Linked DNA regions of Homo sapiens: region 2 is linked to region 1. The links are contacts of gene promoters, found by promoter capture Hi-C in blood cells and fetal thymus (Javierre and others, 2016). All regions are on one chromosome and are shown on one strand. Each heading gives the region's core, a stretch centred on a gene start or on the middle of the fragment in contact. The rest is flanking DNA. Distances are from core to core; before and after follow the strand shown. Region 1 holds the start of ADISSP (adipose secreted signaling protein). Region 2 has its middle 59 kb from the start of SMOX.

Region 1 (3,642 bases), core at 691-3,190:
CCCACCTGACCAACATGGTGAAACCCTGTCTCCACTAAAAATACAAAAATTAGCCCTGGGTGTGGTGGCGCGCACCTAGAATCCCAGCTACTTGGGAGGCTGAGGCAGGAGAATGGCTTGAACCCGGCGGGGGAGGGGGTGGAGGCTGTAGTCAGCCGAGATGGCACCACTGAACTCAAGCCTGGGCGACAGAGTGAGACTCTGTCTCAAAAATAAATAAATAAATAAATAGGCAAAACTTATCTTGGTTGAAGAGGGCTTGAATTTTGGCTATGAGAAGAGAGCGGGGAGGGCCTTCCAGGTTGGAAGGTGGGATAATGAGGGGGAGGGGATCACAAATGTCTGCACAGACCCAGAAGGTAACTAACCGTGAGAAACAGGGATTAGCGGGGACTATGGTAAATTTATGTGCTCTTAAAGGGGCTTGTAATGCCAGGCTGGAAAGTGAGCCCATGTTGTCAGATCTTCTGATATTTCAAAAGCCACGAAACCAGATTCCTGATTCCAGAAAGAGGCGGAGGAGGCAGGAGGGGGAAGGACTTCTTTTAAAAAGCCCCATGTGAGCTAAACAAAATACACCTACGGGCCACTTTGGGCCCACCGTCTGCCAACTTTAGACTTTCAAGACAAGGTCTAAAGGTAGTGTGGTGGGAGTGGGTAGAGTGGGCAGGAGTGGATGGGCTGAGATCAGAATGTGAAAAGCTCTCAATGTAAGCGCTGTCTCTCAAACGCGAGGGCACATGAGTCACCCAAAGTGCTGCTGAAGTTTGTGAAGCGCTACTGGAGGCAGTCCCAGAGGGCTTTGGAGCAGGAGAGGGACGCGATGAAAACAAGAGCTCAGAAAGATTAATTTGCCAACAGTGTGCAGACTGGAGATCAGCAGACAGGTTATGGGCCACAGGGTGGCAGACTTGAGGGCTCCTTTAAGGCAGCGACCCCGGCCCTGCTGAAGGGAGGCTGGCCTTCGGCCGCCCAGGCCGTCTCTCTAGTTCCGTTGGAAGCAAGGCGCTGCGTGCTCCGGACGGCTTACTGAGGGCACTTTGGGGAATCCGTCCCCACGGGCGAAGTATAGGTGGGGTGTTCGCGAACCGGCGGGCGGAGAGCACCGGCAAGAACCCCCGCAGACCGGAGGGCCACGCCTCTCGCTCCTCGGCTCATTGCAGGCGCCCACATCCCACCCCGCGGTGCTGAGCGAGGCGCATCTCGCTGCCATGGCGACCGCCTCCATGGAGACCGGGAGCAGAGGCTGCGGTCCCCGGGGGCGCGTCACAGGCTCTCCCAGCCCCCAGCCCGCGTGCCTTCTTTGTTCTGATGCTTCTCCAGGCCGGGCCAGGCACCCGGGACGCGTCTCGGGCCCGCACGGGGGTTGCTTCTTTCGAGACAGGGGATGGGGTGGAAGGGGAAGAGGTCCAAACCCTGGGGTCGAAACAGGAGTGATGGAGGGTTCCTCAGCTCCTGAACGAGACCAACACGGCCCGTATCGATGGCCGAAGCCGGCGTGGAAGCCCAGGGAGAAAGGCCACCTTCGGGAGCTCCACCCAGCCCCGAGACGCGCCCGACAGCCCTCCCGAGAGCGAAGGGCCCAAGGGAGGTGCGTCCTAAGCAAGGTTCAAGGCTAGAGGCGCTATCCCCCAGGCGGAAGAAGGAGCGGGGGCGGGGCCTATCCGAGGCCCTCCTTCTCCCTCTTCGAGTGGTCGGTTCTGGCCCCTGGCCTAGTTGGGCCGCCTGCCCGTCTTCCTCGCGAGAGCTCGCCCGGCAGGCGCGGACTAGCAGGGCGCTGCCTCGGCGACCCTGGCACGTGACGTAGGCGGCCCTCGCCAGTTGGCCGTTCTTTGGAGCCCGCTCATTGGTCCGGAGCGTCCCTCGCCCCACCCTCCCAGATCAACCAATGGGCGGAGGCGGGGGCGTGCCGACGGGAGGGCGGCCGCGGCGCGGGGCTCCCTTCCTCGTGCTCGGCGTTGAGCTCCTGCAGCCGCCGCCGCTGCAGTGGTCGTCCCTGCCCTCCCCGGCCCCGGGGTGCACCCCGCAAGGTGAGGCCACCCCTCTGCTCCCTGCCTCCCGGTTCCTTCCCGTTCGCCGAGGTCCCCTCCCGGTCCCGGCCCTGTCCTGAGCAGTCAGTGCCTGGGACCCCAGCGGCCGTGATGGCAGGGCTGGGGTGGGGGGCTCCGCTGTCGGGGCCGGGCCTGGAGGACTCCCCAGCACCTGAACTAGAGTGATGTCAGGTTCCCGGGGCGCAGTGACCGTTAGCTGGTGCAGCTGGGGTGTTTTCCGCGAAGCGATTGTCCGGGGGCATGAGTGCGGTAGTGAGGGCGGGGGCGTAATGGGGTCAGCGCCCCCTCCTCCCCACGACCCTGTTCATTGCCGCTGCCTCGCTGCATGACCTTGGACCAGTAGCATCTCTGAGCCTCCGAGCCTCAGCACCCTCAGGAAGGAGGGCAGTGATGTCTGGGAGTGCGGGCTCCGGAGACTCCTGCGTCAGCCGAGGTGAGTGAAGGTGGGGAGTGCACAGGATTATCTCCGAGGGACAGAGCCGCCGCCTCGCAGCTCAGGATGGATTGGATGGGGGGGATGTCCGATTACATTTCCCCCCTCCCCCTGAGATGACAAGAATGGGGTGTGGCGGGGGTGCCACACCCACAGGGATGGCTGCCGGAGAGGATAAAGGGTCCTACACCTGGACCCTTGGGGCCTCGGGGGCTTGGGCTGCACCTCCCTCCCGGTGGTATGAAGGAGGAGGGACTGGATTTAGGTTCTGGACCCGTGTTTCCATTAGTAAGCAGGGACTGAGAAAGGGAAGTCTCCGCTTGCCTTTCTTCTTGAATCTTGGCACTGGAAAGTGGAGGTAGGGCATTTTTCTGCTCCGGGGAGTTGAAGAAAGTCGGGGCAGCACCCCATCCCTCTCCCATTCTGGTCTTTTGTGGAGGGAAAATGTAGCTGGATATCCCCCCACATTCTATCCATCCTGAGCTACGAGGCAGCAGCCCTGTCCCTGGGAGATAATCCTGTGTGCTCCCACCCTCACCTTGGCTGACCCCCTGGATCCAGCCTGGCCTCTGCTTCTTGGGACCTCTGGATCACAGGCCCAGGGCAGGGCCTAGGTGGGGCATGCTATCTGGAGGCTAAGCACCCACTAGCTGAGGGCAAAGTGGGGAGAATGCTGGGCAGAGGAGGGCAGCACTTGTTGGGGAGGCAGGAAGGTGTGGGTGGTGAGGGTCCCTTCTCCATATTCCCCCACCCCCACCCCCAGCACCTCACTGTTAGAAGGAGAGAGAACAGCCATACTTATCTTTGCACCTTTGGCCCACTGGAGGGAGAAGGAAATTAAATCACATTAAAGCTGAGTTGATGTGAAGCTGCCACAACTACTGACCTCCAGCCTTGCCTTTCCAGGCTTTGTTCTGAGTATGTGTGGCCTCTGCTGTGTCCAGTCCTGAGAGTCAGCGGGTCAGTGTGGCCCCATCTCAAGGCCTCAATGGCTGTTCTTTTCACAGGCGTGAGCTTTAATGGGAGGCTACACAGTGCTTCTGCTGGACTGAGTGCTTGAGCCAGGACTGAGCCCCAGGCTGGGGTAGGAGAGGAAGAGGTAGGGAGGGTGGAAGGTTGCGGAGTTCCTGGCTCAGAGAGAAAGACCTCGAACCACAA
Region 2 (3,642 bases), core at 490-2,989, 320 kb before region 1:
ATGATTCATGTCTTTTCCTTCAGGGGCCCAGACTAACTTTTTCCTCTTTACAGCTTTGCAAAAACAAAGGTCCCATCCCCACCACCTTATCACTTACACCATAAGGGGTTTGTGACTTTTAACTAAAAGAACCTTTATTACAGCAGAAATGCCATGTGCCAGAGAAGATACCCACCCAGCCCCCAGTGGCTTTGGGAACCTGCAAAACACAGTAAAGGTTGAGAACAACTGAATTTCCAGCATCTTTCCTCATCCTGGGAATTCCTAGGAATCCTCCACTGACCGAGTCAGCACAGAAATGAAATGGAAACTGGAGGCTTAGCCAATCAGATGCTTCCACCCAGCTCTTTGAGCCTGTAGTGAGTGATACAAGAAGCCAAGGACAGTGAACTATTCATCCTGGCAGTGGTGGCAGCAGCAGCATCCTGGGGCCTGGCTACATGGTGGTGATGGCCACAGTGTCCCCCAGATGTTCCAGCAGCATGGTTTTCATCGTGGTCTTGGCTATCCAGCTGCTACCTTTGGTGCCTGCGTGATTTCTGGGTCCAGTCTTCAAGATATTCTGTGAGCTAATCAATACCCTTCCATTAGGTTTTTTGTTTTTTTGTGTTTTTTTTTGCCATAATCAGAGCCTGTTTCTTCTGCTTGCAACTGCGAATGGACTAATACAGAGTCTTTGAAGGGTATGGGCAGGGAGAAATGATGGGACCTGGCTTGTACTTTGAAGAAGTCCTATAGGCTGCTATGTGGCCACGATAGTAGAGCACAGCTACAGCAAATGTGAGTAGACCAGGTAGACAAGTTCCTTGGACTGGGGTGGTGGCAATAGGAAAAGTTGAATGGCGTTTTGGGGGGTGAAAATCAAATTGGCTTGGTGAGGTAACGGATGTCGGAGAAGTGGGAGGAAGGACTCAGGATGTCACCCAGGTTTCTGTCTTTCACAAGTGGGTGTTGCGTTAGATTGATTGCAAAAATGGCCGCAATTCTCCACCCCTCCCTTTGCAATATGATTTAGTAACATCTCTCATCAAGAAGCAGAACTTTGCCAGGTGCTGTGGCTCACATCTGTAGTCCCAGCTACTCGGGAGGCTGAGCTGCGAGGACTGCTTGAGCCCAGGAGTTCGAGGCTGTAGTGAGCTATGATTACGCCACCGCACTCCAGTCTGGGTGACAGAGCAAGACCCTGTCTCTAAAGCAAACAAACAAAAGAATCAGAACTTTTTCCCAAACTCTTTCAAGTGAGGCTTGGCTTTGAGAGTTGTTTGACCAAAAGAGTTTGGCAGAAGTGACAGTCTGTCAGTTCCAAGTAAAGACCTTATAAGATCTTGCATGTTTTCATTTGTTTTCCTGAAACCCTGCAATCACTATGTGACTAAGCCTAGACTAGCCTGCTGCATGGCCACGCTATACCAGCCAGCTTCCAGCCAACCCAGCATCTGATTGCAAAAGCCTAGAGAAATAATAAATGGTTAATGCATTAAGCCAGTAAGTTCTGGGGTGGTTTGTTATCCAGCAAGGGCAAACTGATATATATATATATATATATATATACACACACACACACACACACACACATATATATACACATATATATACACACATATATATACATATATATACACACATATATATACATATATATACACATATATATACACATATATATACATATATACACATATATACATATATACACACATATATACATATATACACACACATATATATACACATATATATACATATATATACACATATATATACACATATATATACACATATATATATACACACACACACACAAACACACACCTCCCTATATATATAAAACCATCAGATATATATATGTGTGTGTATATATGTATATGTATGTATGTATATAACATATGTCAGGTATAACATATCAGGTATGTGTGTGTATATATATATACACATATATATATATACACACACAGACACACACCATGGTGTGTGTGTATATATGTATATACATATATATATATGTCCATCCACATCCCAACCAAGCCCACCACCCTCTAGACTTTCAAGGGCTCCTGACTACCTGGACTTTCCACTGTTCTCCTTGGCCCATGAAATTGGATGTCCCTGTCCCAAGGCTGTCTGCAGTACACTCGAACTTGCTCTGCCCTTGAACTTGCTCTTGGGCATATCAGCTGCCCCTTAGGCCAGACCCTGGGCTTTCTGTATCTCAGAAATCTGCTTTTATCCCTGGACCCCACATTAGTCCCTGTTCCTGGCCTTTGGGATTTGCCGTGGTTGTGGTTGGGCCCTCCAACTGGGTGAGGGCCCAACTGCTCACTCCCAGGAGACCAGTACCCACATCCCAGCACAGAGCAGGTGAGAGCTCCCACACTCCTTTTTACCCACTCTCACGGCCTTACTGTGTGCCCTTCTGTAGCTTCTGTGACCCATTGATCTTCCTACAACCTCCCTGGCAGGATCTCTTTGCTCCTCTCCATCCCATATTCAATACCGGGTCCCTGTGGAGCGCCAGGCTCTATACTAAGGACCCTGTGTGGGTCCCCCAAGGGCAGAAACCATCTTTCCCCATCAACTCAAAGTCTCCTAGGCATAAAGGCTGGGGGTGGAGGGCTGAGGACTGACCCAGGACCTCTATTTTGCCTCCTGTAAATAAAGATATCTCAAAATACAGTAAGAAGACCAACTAAGTGGGTGAAACTCCACCAACTGACAGATAATTGTCACATCTTAACTATACATCTTTCCTCGGCAGGCAAGACACATCTAGGCCTGGTGAAGACAGAAACGCTAGTCCCCCCCCTTATTTGCAGGGGATACATTCAAGACCCCCAGTGGATGCCTGAAACCGCAGATAGTACCAAACCCTATACATACTATGGATTTTTCTATATGTACATATCCACCATAAAGTATAATGCATAAATTAAGCACAGTTAAGAGGTTAACAATAATAACTGATAATAAAATAGAACAATTATAACAACTGTTCTATTTTATTCTCAGTTATTATTGTTAATAATAATTATGTTGTGATGATGTTAAGCATCACCACTTTTGCATCCAGGGGTCGTTATTAAATGAAGTAAGGGTTACCTGAACATAAGCACTGCGATACCTCAGCAGTTGATCTGACAGCCAAGACAGCTACCAAGTGACTAATGAGCGGGAAGAATATGCAGCATGGACGTGCTGGACAGAGGGATGATTCACTCTACTCAGCATGGCAGGCAATTTAAAATGGGAGTTGCTCATTTTGTTTTTTGGTTTTCTTTTTCTTTTTCTTTTTCTTTTTTTTTTTTTTTTTGAGACTGAGTCTCACTCTGTCACCCAGGCTGGAGTGCAAGGGTGCAATCTTGGCTCACTGCAACCTCTGCCTTCCAGGTTCAAGCGATTCTCCTGCCTCAGCCTCCCAAGTAGCTGGGACTACAGGCACACACCACCATGCCCAGCTAATTTTTGTATTTTAGTAGAGAAGGGGTTTCACAATGTTGGCCAGGCTAGTCTCAAACTCCTGACCTCAAGTGATCTGCCCGTCCCAGCCTACCAAAGTACTGGGATTACAGGTGTGAGCCACCCCATCTGGCCAAAACATGAATTATTTATTTCTGGAATTTTTCCATTCAATATTTTCAATCTGTG

The links. Contacts are between HindIII fragments. The CHiCAGO score rates a contact against its expected background, and 5 or more counts as called.
Region 2: a fragment that was not itself captured here is called in contact with the fragment with the promoter of ADISSP in region 1 in 2 of 17 cell types (total CD8 T cells and total CD4 T cells); the score reaches 5.5 in total CD8 T cells.

Annotation. Positions count from the first base shown.
Region 1 is chr20:3,766,051-3,769,692 of GRCh38, reverse strand. It overlaps ADISSP (adipose secreted signaling protein), which reads left to right and starts at 1,940. Exons shown (of 6, transcript NM_001258429.2): 1 at 1,940-2,030. RefSeq lists enhancers at 606-655, 1,317-1,903, 2,031-2,795 and a silencer at 1,806-2,045. The HindIII fragment of the contact is 5,584 bases long and covers 1-3,642 here.
Region 2 is chr20:4,087,671-4,091,312 of GRCh38, reverse strand. No RefSeq gene overlaps it. Among named protein-coding and RNA genes, the nearest start is that of SMOX, 59 kb to the left of the region's middle. The HindIII fragment of the contact is 6,501 bases long and covers 1-3,642 here.